Linked DNA regions of Homo sapiens: all the other regions are linked to region 1. Evidence: promoter capture Hi-C in 16 types of primary human blood cells and fetal thymus (Javierre and others, 2016). All regions are on one chromosome and are shown on one strand. The core of a region is centred on a gene start or on the middle of the fragment in contact, and the rest is flanking DNA. Distances in the headings are between cores, read along the strand shown.

Region 1 (3,050 bases), core at 1-2,500:
CCCGCCCCCATTCCCTGGGCAGGTGGGGTGGCGGGGGCGGGGCTAGGAGAATGGGAGCGGCTGATTGGAAGGGAGGCCCCCCCAAGACTTGAAATGTACCTCAAAATTAGGAGACACCCTAACCTCCAGCACCTAGACATCTTAAAAGCCCGCTCTCGGGGCCATCCCCAGTCCCCCAAAGCCAGCCAATGCCTCCAGGTCACTTTTAGCCAAAGAACCAAAAAGTCCGCAAATAGTCCAGAAGTTAGCTAACCACTCCCACCGCGCTAGCGGCTCCCCAGACGGCCACTAGGTGTCGGGCAACGCTAAGCAATGGGGCCGGGGCGGGGCCGACCTCACCGGCCCGACTACCTCTTTAAGAGGCTTGGGCTGCCCCATCCCTGGCTTTACTTTCCAGATCTAGAGGTGGGGGTCCGCACCCAGCAATAACCCGGGTCTTCCCGCTCCGGCTCCTGCCCCAGTAAGCGTTGGACCGGGAGACGCAGTGCTCAGCATCGGTCAGCAGGGGGCGCAAGGACCCCGCCCCGCCGAGTCCGCGCCAAAGTTTCTCATCCTCCACCCGCCCACGCTCCGCACCCCCTCCGCGGCTGCCCAGCACCCCCACGGCCCCAGCAACACTCTAGCCCGCAGAGAGGGCAATCTTTCCTTATGAATCATCCCACGGCCTTCCTGATTGCTTCTACATCTTGGGCTTCAAATGCCCCGCTCGGCGCCCCCATCCCATCTTCGACGTGCTTTCCTCACTCTGCACCCAGATCCCCACTTCCCCGGTTGCGCGCTCGGGATTCTCTCTTGCACCAACTCACGCCGCGCTCCACCCTCACCTCCCGCTCCCGGGGCGCGTTCAACCCCAACCTCGCCCCAGGGTGAGCTCCCTCCTGTCTCAGGGCGCCGAGGAAGAGCCCTCATCATCTCCCTTCCATTCCCGAGTCTCCGGATCATCCACGTCTCGTTTTAAGCCGCGGCCCCCGGGACCAAGCGCAAGGCGCGATATAGAGTATCCTTGCACTCCCAAAAGTTTGGGACTTACTGTCTTCGTCTTGGCCCTCGACTTGGCCTTCCTCTTGGCCGTGCGTCAGGAGGGCGGTGGCCGCTAAGAGGAGCAGGAGCCGGAGGTCCACAAAGCTGAACATGTCTAGACCCTAGACATGTAGACTCTTTGTGGCTGGGGAGGGGGTTAGCGTCCGCTCATGCGTGGCCTCACACTCCGCGTGCCTCCTGCTCCGACCCCGAGGAGAAACTCCCGTCTGCTCCGACGACTGGCCCGGGCCCCTTTTATACTGTCCTGATGGAGAGCAGGGAGGAACCCTGCCCCTCGGAGAGGGGGAGCCGGCCGCCCGTGCCCCAGCCAATCAGAGCTGCCTGGCCCGGCCCCCAATTTGGGAGTTGGAATGGAGAGGGGGAGGAGGAGGGAAGGGAGTCCACCCCACATCTCCCCTCTTCGCAGCTCTGCCTCCCCAGCCCCCCAGCCCAGCCTGGGCCAGAGGTGCTGTGGTAGGGGTGCAGCTGGGTCCTCAGAATGGCGTGGGCTAACCAGTGGGTAGGGGTGCCCCTCTGCTCTCTTCCTGGGACCTCCAATCTAGAAGAAGTGGAACTGGGGAACTGGGGAGCTGGGTGGGGAGACTTCCAAAGGTGGAAGGGTTGGGGGTGTTGGGGAGGGGGTCCTCCTGGCTGTGCCCCAGTCACCCTCTGATATCCTGGCAAGAGCTAAGGGAGGGGCATAAAGAGGCATGCTGAGGACCTCTCCAAAACAGAGGAAGCTGGGAATTAAAAAGATGTGCCTGTTTGGGGGTGTCTTCTGGTGTGGCTAGGGGATGGAGCTTAGGAATATTTGGGGAACAATTTACAGATTCCTTTCTAGACATTAAGAATCAGATATCTGAGGGAGGGGTGCAGGCAAGGGAGTTTTAATTTTGAGGATGTCAATTCTTCTGCTGTGCTCCAGAACAGAATCAAATGCCTTCCTCCAAACCCTAGGCATGATTGAGAGATGGAGTGGGGAGGCTGAGGTGCAGGGTGAGAAACATGACTAGGTGGCCTCTGCAGAAGAAAGCTTTGGTGGTTGGGTGATGGAGCAGCCAAGGTAGGGGTGGGGGATTCTAGGGACACAGAGGTGGGGATTGGGGCTTGCAATCCCCTAAAAATTCATCCCCCAAACTCTTCCACCCCAGAGTTGGGAAGTATTTTTAGTGGGAGGCCTGTGATCATTGGTGACTTAGAGAAGAGTTTTGTTTGCCATGGCTGTGGCCAGGGGCTGCTTAGAGACCCTCCTTCCCAGCACAGTCAAACCAGAGAGAACCTGGGTGGAGGGAGGGCACTTAGCTAAAGGGGTGTCTTTCTGGGAGCTGCATAAAGCCCCTTCTCCAGTTGTACCTGGACTCAGTGTTGGGGATGTATGGGATATTTTGGGTGTCTGGGTGAAACTTTCCTTTGGGGGTGTGGGATGGGCTGCAGAGGATGATTGACTTTGTTTTAGGGGCTACTTCCCACTGCCTCATCTCTTTCTTGAAAATCCCGGTCATTGCTCTATGCCTTAGGAACCAGAGAGAATCATCTGTACACTCTGAAAGGGTCTGGGGACCCGAAGGACAGCAGGCTATATCTAAGGAAGATGGCTCTAGAACTCCACGTCCTTTCTTCCTCCATGTCCCATTCCCCCAACAAGGCTCTGCCTCAACCCCAATCTACCTCGTCCTGAGAAACTCTGTAGGGCTGAGAGAAGGCCTGGGGGTCTCCTTGCAGTGCCCTGTTCATTTCTCTCCCTCCTGTGCAGCTCCCCACCCCGGGTGCTCCAGAGCTGCAAACGTGGAAGCGGGGAGTCCCGCCTCCCCCAAACCATCCAAGATTCCATTGCCTCCCCCCGCCCCTCTCCACGCCCTCCCCCAGCTGGTTTTGTGCAACGAAGGCAAAGGGGAAAAAAAAGGAACAGAAGGGGAGGGAGCCACGTCGGCTGGCCGGCTGGCCGTGGGCAGCCAGGATGAGCGGTGCGGGTGGGGCAGCAGAGGGAGACTGCAGGGGCTATAATTAAAGGGAAAATATAGAGTTTCCAG
Region 2 (3,050 bases), core at 414-2,913, 200 kb after region 1:
CCGAGATCACTCCTGGGCAACAACAGCAAAACTCCATCATCCAAAAAAAAAAAAGGCCCTCACAGCCCATCTCTATTTTCCCATGGTGTCCAGGCTGGACAAGCTCAGCAAAACTTTCTCCCTAAGGTTAATGCTGGACTGTTCAGATGCCTGGAGTATATGGTTTCAGAGAGCAGTCCTAGGGCAGGGTGAAATAAGGCTGGCCATCTATCTTCCTGGGGTAGAAAAGGAGGCATATATTCAGTTAAGGATCCTCTGGCAACCTGCACTTTCTGTCACAAAGTCGTAAAAGTGAAGTTTGACCACCTAAAAAAGTTTTAAATACTACAGCGGGAAAAACACAACAACAGCTACAAGTATCAGTATTTGCTCCTTCCAAGCATTTTCCATTACAATGGTATTTAACCTCCCAATAAGCGTATGAGATGGAAACTATTATCACCATTGTATAGATGAGGAGATCTAGGCATAAAGGCTAACTAGCTTGCCAAGGGCACTCGGCTATTAAGCAATGGAGCTGGGAGGAGCTAGGAACCCGGTTCTAACCACTGTAATACCCGTCCACGGTGGAAGAAAGACTGGGCCCAGCGCCCAAGGCAAATGTAATTTATCAACGGCAGAAAGCAAAGTGTGGGTCACCCAAAGTGAGTCTAGTAGGGCGTTGGCGCGGGTGGGAGGGGGAACGGAGTGGGAAAAGGAGGGATGTGGGAACTAGCTCCACGCTGACAAAACTAGATGCCTGCTATCTCTCTGGAGCTGTAAGCTTCAGTTTACAGGGGAAAGGTTGGGGGAGAGAGGGGCGAAAGGGACTCCCGCCAGTTTCAGCGGAATTCAGATGACAGTTTACCAGCCAAGCTGGGGGGAGACTTTACTTTCTTCGAGTTAGGCTGCCTCAGGGCTCGGGCAGCCAGCTGGAATTGCCAGCTTCCTAGAAGAGCCAGGTTCTGGGCCACACCCAGGTCTACCAGGAGGCCTACTCCCCTGGAACAAGTCACTCATTCATTCTCGAATACATCCAGTAACTGCTCCGTGTGCTCCTACTCAGAGTCGGGCACGGAGGTGGGCGCTGTGAAAGCCCCGCAAAGGTGACAGATTCGCTTCTTAGCCTGTAAAAAGCCTAGGGCCAGAGAAGCAGATCTTCCCTATGTTCTGGAACTGCGCCAAAGTGACACGTGTACATCCCGGGAAGAACCTTGGGCTGGACGCGGCCTCCTAGGGGACTTAGTCCCACCACCCCGCTTCTTTTTAAAGAAAAGGAAACTGATGCTTTTAGAGAAGAGGAAAGTAAGTGGCCCACGTAGGGGCCAGCGCCCGGCGAAGGTGGGCGCCTGGGCCTCGCGGGACGATACTGACCAGCTCCTTCACCGGGACCTCATTCAGGTCGCTGAGGCTCAGGTCCAGTTCGTTGCCGTCCAGCTTGTCGCGGAGGTTCCCGCCCTTGCTACCGGCCTTGGTCATGGTAACGCCGGCTGAGCGGGCCCCGGCTCCGGGGTTCCGGCGGGTGAAAGGAGCTGAAATGTCGCTTGTCAGTTCAGCGGCCCCCCACCCAAACGACGACGCCTGAGCCCTCCGTCGCCGCCGATGCGAGACCGCCTCCGCCCGCTGGCCGCACTCCGAGCCTCGCGCCTAGCTCCCACCGGTGCCGCGACGACGACCACTTCCGTGTCCACGTCACCTTCCGCGACCACTGAGATGGGCTGGGCCAGAGCGGCCCGAGCGTGTGCGGGCACGCCCCCTGGTGCCCAGGGTGATGCACTGCACGTCGCCGCCGCCGGAGGGGTGGGGTTGGAGGCTGCGAGCTCGGTTCACGTTCACCCGTGGCCCGCGGGCATTATTGCTGGCAGTGCCACGAGGCGAAAGGGCACGGACTGGGCGCCAGAAGACTGGGTTGACATCCAATACTGACCTCATCAGATCACCCCAATCCCCCTGATTAGGAGCAGAAGCTGGGTGTCCTCTAAAACTGCTCCCTGTCCTCTACTTAACCCCCGAATAACCATCATGGGGAAAACTCTTCTTCCTGAATTTCTCCTCTCTCCTCCCCACTCACTGCCTCAGTGCTTGTCTCTGTCCTTCCATCCACTTTCACCCAGCTCCCCGGTGATCTTTCTAAAAATCTGGCCAAGTCTCTCCCCTACGTAAAACCCTTCAAACTTGCAGCTACCTCTAGGATACGGACCACTTTCCTTTGGAAGCTGGGTCCTGCCTGCTTTCGCAGCTTCCTCACACGCTCCAGTCCCTGCCTGGCCTAGATGCTGTGTAGATTTCCAGGAGGTGGCTCCCACGTCTGGCCCTCCCCAGCGATGGCCCTCCCTCCCCCCCACTCACCTCTGTCTAGCTAATTCCTTAGTCCTTCAGGAAATCTCCCCTGAACACCGTGAATGCCAGACTGAGTTAGCGCCCCCCCCAACCAACTTAGGTCCCTGTTTGCTACTTTATCATCAGAGACAGTAGAGCTTGATGGCCAAGTGGGACCTCTGGCACTAATACCTATCCACTGGGTATTCATCCTGGCTCTGCCACTTGCTACTTATAAAACCGTAGACAATCACCAGGCTTCAGTCTTATCTATGAATCAATCTATGAGACATGTAGCTAACAGAGGTTGGGGAGAACTGAAGGAGTAAAACACACCAAGAGCTTACAGCAGTCACTGGCACTTAGTAAGTACCCAATAAATATTAGCTACAATTCATGATCCACCTTGTATTATACTCATCTTTATGTGTCTGTCCTTCATTCTGGACTGTGAGGACAGGGATTTTTGTCTTAATCATCTTCGTATGCCCAGAGTTGGCATACCCTGATGCAGGGTAGCTACTCATTCAGATGTCTGTTGAATAAATGAATAGATGGATGGATGAATGAATGAATGAATGAAGGAAGGAAGCACTTTACCCACTCCAAACCTCAGTTTACTCATTTTGAAATAGGGATATTAAAGCTTATCTCAGAGGGGCCGAGCAGGATAGCTCACACCTGTAATCCCAATACTTGGGAGGCCAAGATGAGAGGATTATTTGAGGCTAGGAGTTCAAAACCAGTCTGGG
Region 3 (3,050 bases), core at 318-2,817, 150 kb after region 1:
CCCGAACCTGCTCGGAGGTGGGGAGCCCCAGGCCAAACTTTCTGAAGTTGGGAGGGGGCGGGGATATGCGCGCCGTGGGCGGAGGAGTAGGGCCAAGGGACTCAGGGCGTCCTTCCCCAGCTGAGCCCGAGGGGCAGCGGCCGGTGAGGAAGGGGAGCTCGGGGGTGGAATTCAGGCCTGGGACAAAGTGTGTACCCGGGAACTGAAGGAACAGGGAGTGACGCCGAAGGAGAGAACTGGAGTATTCCCGAGGTGTGGCTTCCTCAGCCGGGGGTTTGAAGAACCTGGATGGGTCTCCGGAGGGCAGGGAGAGGAGGAACTGAGCTGGTGAGTTGGCCTCAGGACCTTAGGGAATTAGGGAGGGGCCCTCTGGCTTTAAGGGAATGGGGACTGTAACAGAGCCCCAGCCGCAGAGCAGGGGCAACCAACAGCCGTCTCAGCCCCCAAGTCCCTGCCTCGAGGGTCTTTCTCCCTCTTCCCCGATGTGGTTTCAGCGGGAGGCTCAGACACCTCAGCGGTGTGGTGAGGAAGGGTCCATTGGGTCTGGGTTCGTGCTGCGGAGATGGAGAGGACAGGCCACACCACAGCCCTAAGCTGTGGCCCAGAGGTCAGGACCTCCCTGCCCCCAGCGCCCCTGTTCTGCTGCCTCCAGGGCTCCGGGTCAGAGACTCTATCTGCTGCTGTCCTCCGGCAAGCCCCGATACCCGCGACCCCTTACCGCATCTCGCCAGTCTGGAAGGCCTGGTGTGGAGACAGAAGAGCTGCCCTTGCCTTTTTTTGGGAGAACCCAGAGGGTGGGATGGTGATGGGGGCTGGAACAGAGTCACATGAGACCATAACTCCAAAAGGAGGTGGGGGCGGGGGTGGGGCTGGCTCCGTGACATCCGTGGGGTGTAGACCTACAAGTAGGACAAGCAAGTAGGAGAGTGTTTCAGGCCCAGTGTAAGAAGACTGTTTGGGCAGATGGGACATTCCAAGATGGAATGGGCTGCCAAAGCAGTTAGGGAGCCCTCTGACCCTGGAATATGTGACCACTCTGGGCTACCGCCCCCATCCCCCACCACCTCCTCCTCCAGCTTCCTGGCTGAATGAATAGGGGAATCCTGGGCTGGAATGTTTGAAAAAGCTTGTGCGGTCCAGGCACCCATTGCTGCTTGGACCCCCTCAGCTGCTCCCTCACCTGACTCTGGGGTTGCCAGGCAGCATAACGGGGTGCATGGGAAGGTGAGTGCTGAAGCTGGACCACCCACTTCACCACTCTCTTCCAGCTCTGACCCTGAGAAGACCACCAGCAAATCACTTTGCCTCCTCCCTTATCCTTATCAGTATCCCTCCTCAAGATGGGGATAATAATGGCACCTCCCGTGTTAGGTGATTATAAAGATTAAGTGAAAATGATGCCTGTGAAGCACTTGCAGGAGTTCCTGGCACATGCTCAGCTGTCAGTAAATAAATAACTCTTATTATCCCAGCACTGTGCATTGGGAATACGATTCATTCATTCATTCATTCATTCCACAAATAGGTGTGAAGTCCTACTTTGTACTAGACACTGTGCTAATACTGGGGATACAAAAATAAAATAGATGAGGTCTCTGCCCTCATGGACAGGTAATCTACAGAGAGAAACAGACAGCGAAAAGGAATTTAATAGAATTACAAAGGGGTTGGCTTAGATCAGGGGGTCAGGAAAGGCTTCTCACAGGAAGAGGTGGGCAGGAGAGTTCAGGCAGAAGGCCTGAGGAGAATGGGCTTAGCTGGGCACCCTTGAGGAATGGACAGGAGGGTGTGGTGCTTTCCCTGAAAGAAGGTTCCATTCTGTGCGGCTGAAAGGACCAGAGCAAGGGGCAAGGGTTTTATTCTAAGTGCAGTGGGAGAGCACTGAAGGGGTTTAAGCAGCACAGGATTCAGTGTGCATTTAAGACGTGCACTCTGCCCATCTATGGAGAGGCTGAGAGTGGATCCCAGGGATGGTCACGAACCTCCAGAGAGCCACTTTATAGTTTCCAAAGCTTCCACAAACACCATCTCACCACTTGTTTTAAATGCAGCCCGAGAAGTCAAAGGAGGTGGGGTATGGGGGGAGCATTTCTGTGTTCACCCTTTCTGTGACTCAGAGAAGGATTCTAAGGTGGAGCTACAGAGCCAGGAAGTGGCAGAGGATTTTAATCGCCTCCTTGGAGGAGAGGAAGGAGCCTCTGAGGCCAGAATGTATCCCAGCCAGAAGTCAGAGGACCATTCCCTACCCTCAGTCATCAGAAGGGCTCCTGACCTCAGGGGCTGCTGGGGGCAGCCTGTGAGGGGCACAAGGCTGGGGCTGTGATGACGATGCTCCTTGGACATGCCTGGAAGGGATGGAGGTGGGGGCTGACTGCCCACCAGGGCCTCTGCTCCCTCACTGCTGCCTCCTCATCCCCCAGCCTCCTCTGGGATTGTCCTTCTCAGGGTCAGCCAGCTCCCACTGCAGTGCAGGGACCAACATGCCCATCTCCTCCCACATCCTGGCCCCCACCACAGCCAACCTGGCCCCGTGCCTCATGCCCTGCCCTCCTGACCAGCTTCCTAACTCACTGATACTGGCTTCCACTCGGAGAGCCTACAGCTCTCTGCCATCTACCCACCTAAGCTTGGGAATGTCTTTCTCTGCTTGTGCTCTGTAGCCAGCTCACATGTCACCAGGCTGATGCACACTCAGCTCAGTGGGGCTGCATTTACCTTTCCTAGGGATTCCCCAGCCTGTGGTGCCCTCCCCAGTGTGGGTAGAGAATAGGGTCTGCTGCCTCCTCTTGCAGGTATCTCTTCTCGGATGGGAATGGGCGCCCCCAGCTCCCACTGGCCACCTTTAAGAGATCAGAGGGCAACCGGGCACTGTGGCTCATGCCTGTAATCTCAGCACTTTGGGAGGCCAAGGTGGGAGAAGCGCTTGAGTCCAGGAGTTCGAGACCAGCTTGGATAACATAGCAAGACTATCTCTATTAAAATAAATAAAATAAAAAGATCAGAAGGCTGGCTGGGTGCTAGGCACAGAGGGCATGGATGTAGGCATGGGG

The links. Contacts are between HindIII fragments. The CHiCAGO score rates a contact against its expected background, and 5 or more counts as called.
Region 2: a contact is called between the fragment with the promoter of LRRC59 here and the fragment with the promoter of COL1A1 in region 1, in 3 of 17 cell types (neutrophils, megakaryocytes and endothelial precursors). The highest score is 8.8, in neutrophils.
Region 3: a fragment that was not itself captured here is called in contact with the fragment with the promoter of COL1A1 in region 1 in 2 of 17 cell types (M1 macrophages and megakaryocytes); the score reaches 6.0 in M1 macrophages.

The regions. Positions count from the first base shown.
Region 1 is chr17:50,200,381-50,203,430 of GRCh38, forward strand. COL1A1 (collagen type I alpha 1 chain) reads right to left here and starts at 1,251. Exons shown (of 51, transcript NM_000088.4): 1 at 1,031-1,251. The coding sequence starts at 1,133. RefSeq lists a silencer at 466-515. The HindIII fragment of the contact is 2,253 bases long and covers 1-2,051 here.
Region 2 is chr17:50,395,860-50,398,909 of GRCh38, forward strand. It overlaps LRRC59 (leucine rich repeat containing 59), which reads right to left and starts at 1,664. Exons shown (of 7, transcript NM_018509.4): 1 at 1,354-1,664. The coding sequence starts at 1,458. LRRC59-AS1 (LRRC59 antisense RNA 1) reads left to right here. Exons shown (of 2, transcript NR_199069.1): 2 at 1,357-2,698. RefSeq lists a silencer at 1,641-1,710. The HindIII fragment of the contact is 2,181 bases long and covers 762-2,942 here.
Region 3 is chr17:50,346,608-50,349,657 of GRCh38, forward strand. The region is part of intron 1 of XYLT2 (xylosyltransferase 2); the gene reads left to right. Among named protein-coding and RNA genes, the nearest start is that of XYLT2, 2.0 kb to the left of the region's middle. RefSeq lists a silencer at 641-935. The HindIII fragment of the contact is 886 bases long and covers 1,125-2,010 here.